Linked DNA regions of Homo sapiens: region 1 is linked to region 2. The links are contacts of gene promoters, found by promoter capture Hi-C in human tissues and cell types (Jung and others, 2019). All regions are on one chromosome and are shown on one strand. Each heading gives the region's core, a stretch centred on a gene start or on the middle of the fragment in contact. The rest is flanking DNA. Distances are from core to core; before and after follow the strand shown. Region 1 holds the start of INTU (inturned planar cell polarity protein). Region 2 holds the start of MFSD8 (major facilitator superfamily domain containing 8).

Region 1 (3,733 bases), core at 454-2,953, 330 kb after region 2:
GAGTTTTTTGAACGCTGTTACAGATATATCCTCCTATGGCCTAGACAGAGCCCATGACCAAAAAGAGGAGATTCTCCTCATCTAAGAATCATTGAAAAAACAAAACAAAACAAACAAAAAACAACCTACAGTAGCAAAGAATGGCATCGTCATTTCTGCTCACACCACCATACAATGGAACGTGGTGCAATTAAATCCCACTTATTATAGAACCCCAAATACTCGATTCCAACCACGCCAACACCCTTGCAGTTCCCCCAGCCCACGTGTATATTCTCTGGATTGATGGGATGGGATTAATTGTCCCTCTTTGAAAACCTTACTCATAATCGCTACTCGCTGAGGAATATGAACCCGAGTCGCTGACCCGATCTTCAAAATCATAGTCCTCATCTTCTTCTTGTGAAGAGGGGTCTCCAGGGAGCTCGTCTGAGCTCGGACGCGAATCGCACGAAGCCACAGAGGCCATCGTCAGGAATGCAATAGCTACGAGTGGAGTAATTCAAATCTCGCAGCTATAGCTTGCTAAGGCCGCCATGTTGCCTCTGCTTGGGAAGGGGCAGAGGCCATGTGACCACCAATCCTTAGCTGCAATTGGTGGCAGGTCGCGTTGCCAGGGAGACGGAGAAGCTTCCCAGAAGAAACAGGGAGAACAGAAAGCAGCCAATGGGCTGAAACTTCCAGGAGGGCTTCTCAGTTGGAAGGATAGAAATAGCTAAAACTTCACCGCTTACGCTCTCCGGAACGCAATTCCTTAGAGCAGCATAACCTGTTAAAACAGGCGGAGATGCACTGGGCTTCTCACCTTTTTCTTCCAGTGCTGGATATCCAGTTTGCTCTTTGTCCTGTGTTTCTAATGCCTAACAGCTGTCGGTCAGCCTGGATTTCCTTCGAGGTGAAGGAAACCGCACTTTACCTTTCCTTAGGACCTCATCCGTGCAAGTAATGGACGCTTTTAAGCAACGCGATCTAGGTGTTAATGTAAATACGCTCCATTGTTTTATGGGTTTCATATTGTTTCGCAATTGCAAACATTTTCACGGTTATCCCAAGTGGGTATTGTAGAGTGCCACAAATGAGTGGCAATCCTGTGGAATCAACTTCATGTTCATTTTCTAACTCAAAATTTTATAATCTAATTAAGTGTTCTCATTATTAAAGTTGGAAGTGTAAACAGGTAAAATCTACCTGTTATTTATGAATACCTATATCAAGTATTTTTTAAGTACAAAAATAACAGCTAGCATTGATTGAGAGTCAGCCTTGGCTCTGCTCACTTTATTCATATACAATGCTGAGCATTCACATACTATGAAGTAAATATTTTCTCTATATTAAATAAGGAAACTAAGCTTTAGAGAAGTTATGCATCTTACTAATGGTTACATGGCTAGCAGTCAACAAAGTCAACCAAGAAATGAACCTAAGTCAATAACCATTACATGAAATTTCCTCCCTCAGAACCCAGTAATTCAACTATTAGATATCTACTCTGAGAAAGGATGCAAATTTATAAAATTTGTAAAAGTGAAAAGCTGAAAGCAATCTTAAAATGTCAAATAATGGGGGAAAAGTTAAATATATATAAAATATGATGATTATGATTTTAACTAGAATGTGTTCAAAGAGTAAAGCATGGGGGAAATGTTCATGTTGCAGCGTGTAAAAAAAGGATATAATGTTATTTTATGATCTAAAAGGCTGGGTGCTGGGGATTCTCTAATGGGCAATTATAACATAGTGATAAGTATTACAATAAATACAAGGTTCTAATGGAATATCCAGAAAAAACCAAAGTAGTATACGTGGGGCCATGACAAATTTCTTAGAGGAAGTATTAATTTATATTGTTATTATGGCATGGTTCCAACAGAGAAAGAGTAATGGGAGATGAGTCATCACATGGCCGGTATGGGTATATGCATGGAGAACTCAAAGGAACCTGAATTGTAGCTGTTGCAGGGGCAGAAAAACTCTACCTCCATCTTCTTAGGGTCCCAGCTGGGCCTGAGAATTAAACTTACCTAAAATAGATTAACAAAAGAAAAGCAACTGGAACTTGTTATACAGATGTTGAGGCCCTGCTCCACATCAACAGGATCAGAATCTCCAGTGGAGGGGCCTGGAAATCTCTATTTCAAACAAGTGCCCCCTGTGATTCAGCAAACTTGGGGAACTGCCCTAAATTTTCTCTCAGTTCTGTGCTTCATCTATACAGGCCAACTGGCCATTCCCTGAATAGGCTGGAACCCACTCCCACCTCGCAAATTTGAGCCTGGCAGACAGACCTCTCTCCTTGCTCTAGAATCCAAGTTTTACATGGCAGGGGAGCCCTCATAAAGAAATGAAGACCCAAAGAAGCAGTTAGAGTCAGTTAACTTATATACTGGATTGGACAAAGAATAGTTAGTTGTGAAGAAGCAACTAAACTAAATTGGGAAGCTTAAAAGATAAGTTATTTTAACAAGGTCTGTACAGAATTCTCTTGGTTTCACTTCTATGCCCTTGAGAATAAGAATGTTACATTTTTCTAGTATAGGGAGGGTGTCTTTCACATGGGAGCTTCATCTGTTGCTTTTAAGAAGCAGCACAAAGGCACTTGCTGTTTTTCAAGTGTATTAAACTTAAATGGCCAGGATAGTATATTTTACCTTCCTCACAGCCAAACAAGCTGCAGTATGCAGCTTATACTTTTAAGCTGAAGTTTAGTTGTATTTACATTAACTGTACATTACATGTACAAATATACATTAAACTATGTACATTTGAATTTGTATATTACATGTACAAATGTACATTAAACTATATACATTTGAATTTCCTAGGTTTTATGGTTTTGTTTTAATTTCTAAATGTGTTTTTATAGTGTTATAACAGCGATTACATTTTGTAATTTATTTGTATTAATTCATAAAATTGTTTTCATCTTATATAGGAGCTATAAAGCACAGATTATACCTCATTTATTTAAAATTATAATTAAAAAACTTAAGTCATCCATGGAAATCCACAATAGTTTTTCCTTAAAAGAGGTCTATATGTTACTAAAGTTGAAGAACAGGAGGAGGAGTTTGTAAAGGGGTAATGGGCAAAAGGAGTGTCAGAGGCATTTGAACCAGAGCGACTCCATCTTGAATAGGGGCTGGGTAAAATAAGGCTGAGACCTACTGGGCTGCTACTCAGGAGGTTAGGCATTCTTAGTCACAGGACAAGATAGGAGGTCGGCACAAGATACAGGTCACAAAGACCTTGCTGATAAAACAGGCTGCGGTAAAGAAGCCAGCCAAAACTTACCAAAACCAAGATGGCTACAAAAGTGACCTCTGGTCATCCTCACTGCTCACTATACGCGAATCATAATTAGAGTACAGTGAGCAGTGAGGATAATGAGCATTAGTTGCTAAAAGACACTCCCATCAGCATCATGACAGTTTACAAACGCCATGGCAATGTCAGGAAGTTATCTAATATATTCTAAAAAAGGGAAGACCCCTCAGTTCTGGGTACTACTCCCCCTTTCCCAGAAAACTCATGAATAATCCACCCCTTGTTTAGCATATAATCAAGAAATAACTATAAGTATACTCAGTCAAGCAGCCCATGCCGCTGCTTTGCCTATGGAGTAGCCCTTCTTTTTTCCTTTACTTTCTTAATAAACTTGCGTTCAATTTACTCTATGAACTTGCCCCGAATTCTTTCTTGGGTAAGGTCCAAGAACTCTCTTGGGGTCTGG
Region 2 (4,002 bases), core at 1,409-3,908:
TCAAATTTAGCTCCTCTTTTCCATGGGCTTTATAAAAAAAAATTACATATATATATATGTTTAAATGTTTACTTTGGATGCTATGTGTGTGTTCCTAAGAGACATTTTCTTTTTTTTTTTTTCCTACTGGTACAATACACTAAGCTTACTTAGATTTCACCAGCTGTATATGTACTCATTCCATATGCTTTTGTGGTCTGAAGTCATCACTTGGAGGCACCAATGGAAAAGAGCAGTGTCAGAGGGCTGGGATTCCTCTACCAGCTGTGTGACCTTGAGTAAGCCACCTTAACCTATAAACAGAAAGTAATATCTGCCCTGATACATGATAGCCAATTATTTCACTTAGATAAAAACTGAATATCTACTATATATTTTTATGAGATATAAGGAAAGATTCTTCTTGCCGCTTTGCCATTTTTTCCCATAAGAAGCCTGGTGGTAAAGAGCACAGGCTTAGGATCAGGAGTCCTGCATTTCTTGAATTCTAGCTCTGTTGCTTGTTAGTAGTATGATCCTAGGCAAGTTACTTAATCTCCCTGCCTTCCATTTCCTTGTACACATGAGACAATTCCCCCCTCAGAGGATTGTTGTAAGGATGAGATGAAGTAATTCAATGAGCATTCATCCAACATATATTTATCTAGGAGCCATTCTGCTTACTGCTATACTGGTTAAAAATCCCCTTGTCCACTATATATGTGCCATACATTGCTAGCCCCCAGGAATTAAAAAAGACAATATAATAAAGCGACATTATGGCAAGAAAATACTAACTTTTCTACCTATGTGTCTTTTTGGAACCAATAATACAAATCTGACTTGTTTTTGTGAGCTGTTACAAATGAATCTGCAAGACTGAATCCAAGTACAAAATATCAGGTCTTGATTTAGAAGATATTTCTGAATAGCACGTTTCAAGGTTTTTGGTTTTTTTTTTTTTTTTGAGACAGAATCTCACTCTGTTGCCCAGGCTGGAGTGCAGTGGCGTGATCTCGGCTCACTGCAGCCTCCGCCTCCCGGGTTCAAGGGATTCTCCTGCCTCAGCCTCCCGAGTAGCTGGGACTATAGGCGCCCGCCACCACGCCCGGCTTTTTTTTTTTTTTTTTTTTTTTTTTTTTTTTTTTTGTATTTTTAGTAGAGACGGGGTTTCACCGTGTTAGCCAGGATGGTCTCGATCTCCTGACCTCGTGATCCGCCCGCCTTGGCCTCCCAAGGTGCTGGGATTACAGGCATGAACCATCGCACCCAGACCGCACGTTTCAAGTTTAGGTGTTCACCAGTGAACTGCGCCTGGCTGATACACACAAGGTCACAAATGACACAAAGATCAGAAGTGATGGCATATACCATACATGACTGTGTAACTAGTATAGGACCTAGCATAGGGTAAATGCTCATAAATATTAATTTAAAAAAATTAAGTTTGGTTTCCAACTTTGCCACTTCCACACAGAGTGACTCTGGGTTAACTTGTCTGGATCTTAATTTTCAGTAAACTAGCAATGTGTCTGCTTCGCCTATCTCATAGGATACTTGTGATCAAATGAAATTACATGACAATGTATCTGGCGCTAATAAAACGGTAATTTATGAGACACAGAATGACTACTGACGCCAGCTAGCCTACAAGCCTAATAGTAGAGATAAGATGTTAATACATAACCACCAAGAAATAAACATGGAGATCTAGTGAAAACCCATGACATGTTTTCTAAAAATGTCATCTTCCTTGTGACGAAAGGAGCTGGTCATTGCTAGGCAGGTGCTGTACCTTTTTCAACTCCCACGTTTCAGCAGCAGGCTCTGCTGAGTGACATTTTGCAAGGCTGAGGCCCCCGTAGGCGCAGGCGCCGTTGGGGTGCGCATCCGGGGACCTGCAGGTTACAAGCAGCAGATCCCACCTTCAGTCCTGGCTCTGACAAGCCCTCCAGGTAAGGCGCCTTTGCATTTAGCCGAGCTAGAGAAGAGAGCTGGAAGCCACCTCTACCTTTCACGGGGGGAAGGGACTGCCCGCGCGCTCGCCCCCATTATCTCAGCCCTCCGAAGCGCGCCACGGACTCCAGCCTTGTCTCTCACCCCCAGCCTCACCCCGCGTCCCTGACCCGCGAGTCTCCCGCCCAGCTCCGCGTCCCCGGTCCCTGCCTCCAGGCGCGTACACGGCGCGCTAAGAGGCGCGGGGAGCTCTTAGCGCACCTACTACTTAACCGGACCGGCTACTTACTGGCCGCCAGGTGGAAGCCTGCGATCGAGCTGGCCGGGCCTCCCAGCACCGCCGCTCTCCAGGCTCCCTTTCCAGGACTCAACTTTGGTCCCAGCCCCAATCGCAGCTCCGGTAACCTTTCCAGGAACCGAAATGCTAGATACAGCGGAAGGAGAAACGGAGGGAGGAAGACAAACCCGGAGCAGGGCGGCGCGGCAGTTTGGACACGCCCCGAGCTCTCCTGGGCTCTCAGTCCCCGTCAGGATGGGAGGCGCGTGCCGAGGGAGGAGGCTGAGGACACAGCCTCCTTTCGCCCTGCGCTGCCCGGCCTTCCGCGTGACCCCGCCTATGACCTCGGGGCGTTCCGCCTACGTCTGACCGTCAGGTGCGCACGCGCACTTACAGGCTTGTTTTGCCAGCTTCACGCCACCCGGGATGGGAGAAAGCAGGTGTCGCGAGAGTTGGGCGCAAGACGCCTTGTAGGGAGTGTAACTATGGCCGGCCTGCGGAACGAAAGTGAACAGGAGCCGCTCTTAGGCGACACACCTGGAAGCAGGTGAGCGGATCCTGGTGGAGGGACCCCTCAGTCTCCTGCGCTGTTGGGACTGGTTCCTTTCCGGGCGTCACCCGCACTGGGACAAACCCTCGCTGCCAGAGGGGTTCCAGCGCGGTGGGAGCCGGTGGCTGGGTTGTGTGAGCCGAGGAGATTCGCTCCCAACGTAGGAGAAAGGGCGTCTGGCCGCACCGTGCGGTGATGAGCCCGTGGGTTCGAGTGACGGGGCTGGAGAAACCCAGGCTGCTGCTTTGCCTGTTGCAGCACCCAAGCTGAGAGGTGACAGCGTGCTGGCAGTCCTCACAGCCCTTGCTCGCTCTCCAGGCCTCCTCTGCCTGGGCTCCCACTTTGGCGGCACTTGAGGAGCCCTTCAGCCCACCGCTGCACTGTGGGAGCCCCTTTCTGGGCTGGCCAAGGTGGGAGCCGGCTCCCTCAGCTTGCAGGGAGGTGTGGTGGGAGAGGCGTGAGCGGGAACCGGGGCTGCGCGCCGCGCTTGCGGGCCAGCTGGAGTTCCGAGTGGGCGTGGGCTTGGCGGGCCCCGCACTGGGAGCAGCAGGCCGGCCCTGCCGGCCCCGGGCAATGAGGGGCTTAGCACCCGGGCCAGCGGCTGCGGAGGGTGTGCTGGGTCCCCCAGCAGTGCCAGCCCACTGGCGCTGCGCTCGATTTCTCGCCGGGCCTTAGCTGCCTTCCCGCGGGGCAGGGCTCGGGACCTGCAGCCCGCCATGCCTGAGCCTCCCACCCACTCCGTGGGCTCCTGTGCGGCCCGAGCCTCCCCGATGAGCGCCGCTCCCTACTCCACGGTGCCTAGTCCCATCGACCACCCAAGGGCTGAGGAGTGCGGGTGCACGGCGCGGGACTGGCAGGCAGCTCCACCTGCAGCCCCGGTGCGGGATCCACTGGGCGAAGCCAGCTGGGCTCCTGAGTCTGGTGGAGACGTGGAGAACGTTTATGTCTAGCTCAGGGATTGTAACTACACCAATCGGCACTCTGTATCTAGCTCAAGGTTTGTAAACACACCAATCAGCACCCTGTGTCTAGCTCAGGGTTTGTGAATGCACCAGTCGACACTCTGTATCTAGCTACTCTGGTGGGGCCTTGGAGAACCTTTCTGTCAACACTCTGTATCTAGTTAATCTAGTGGGGACGTGGAGAACCTTTGTGTCTAGCTCAGGGATTGTAAACGCACCAATCAGCGCCCTGTCAAAACAGACTACTCGGCTCTACCAATCAGCAGGATGTGGGTGGG

The links. The method cuts DNA at HindIII sites, captures the fragments that hold promoters and counts their contacts. A contact is called where the count stands out against the background at its distance.
Region 1: a contact is called between a fragment that was not itself captured here and the fragment with the promoter of MFSD8 in region 2, in 1 of the 25 tissues and cell types used here (H1 embryonic stem cells).

What each region holds. Positions count from the first base shown.
Region 1 is chr4:127,629,771-127,633,503 of GRCh38, reverse strand. It overlaps INTU (inturned planar cell polarity protein), which reads right to left and starts at 547. Exons shown (of 16, transcript NM_015693.4): 1 at 324-547. The coding sequence starts at 469. RefSeq lists enhancers at 518-697, 360-899. The HindIII fragment of the contact is 3,914 bases long and covers 1-3,660 here.
Region 2 is chr4:127,963,829-127,967,830 of GRCh38, reverse strand. MFSD8 (major facilitator superfamily domain containing 8) reads left to right here and starts at 2,658. Exons shown (of 12, transcript NM_001371596.2): 1 at 2,658-2,759. The coding sequence starts at 2,698. It overlaps ABHD18 (abhydrolase domain containing 18), which reads right to left and starts at 2,425. Exons shown (of 13, transcript NM_001358451.3): 1 at 2,225-2,425. RefSeq lists enhancers at 546-1,045, 1,046-1,547, 2,226-2,841, 2,432-2,851 and silencers at 1,942-2,171, 3,292-3,341, 3,352-3,481, 3,592-3,701. The HindIII fragment of the contact is 8,084 bases long and covers 1-4,002 here.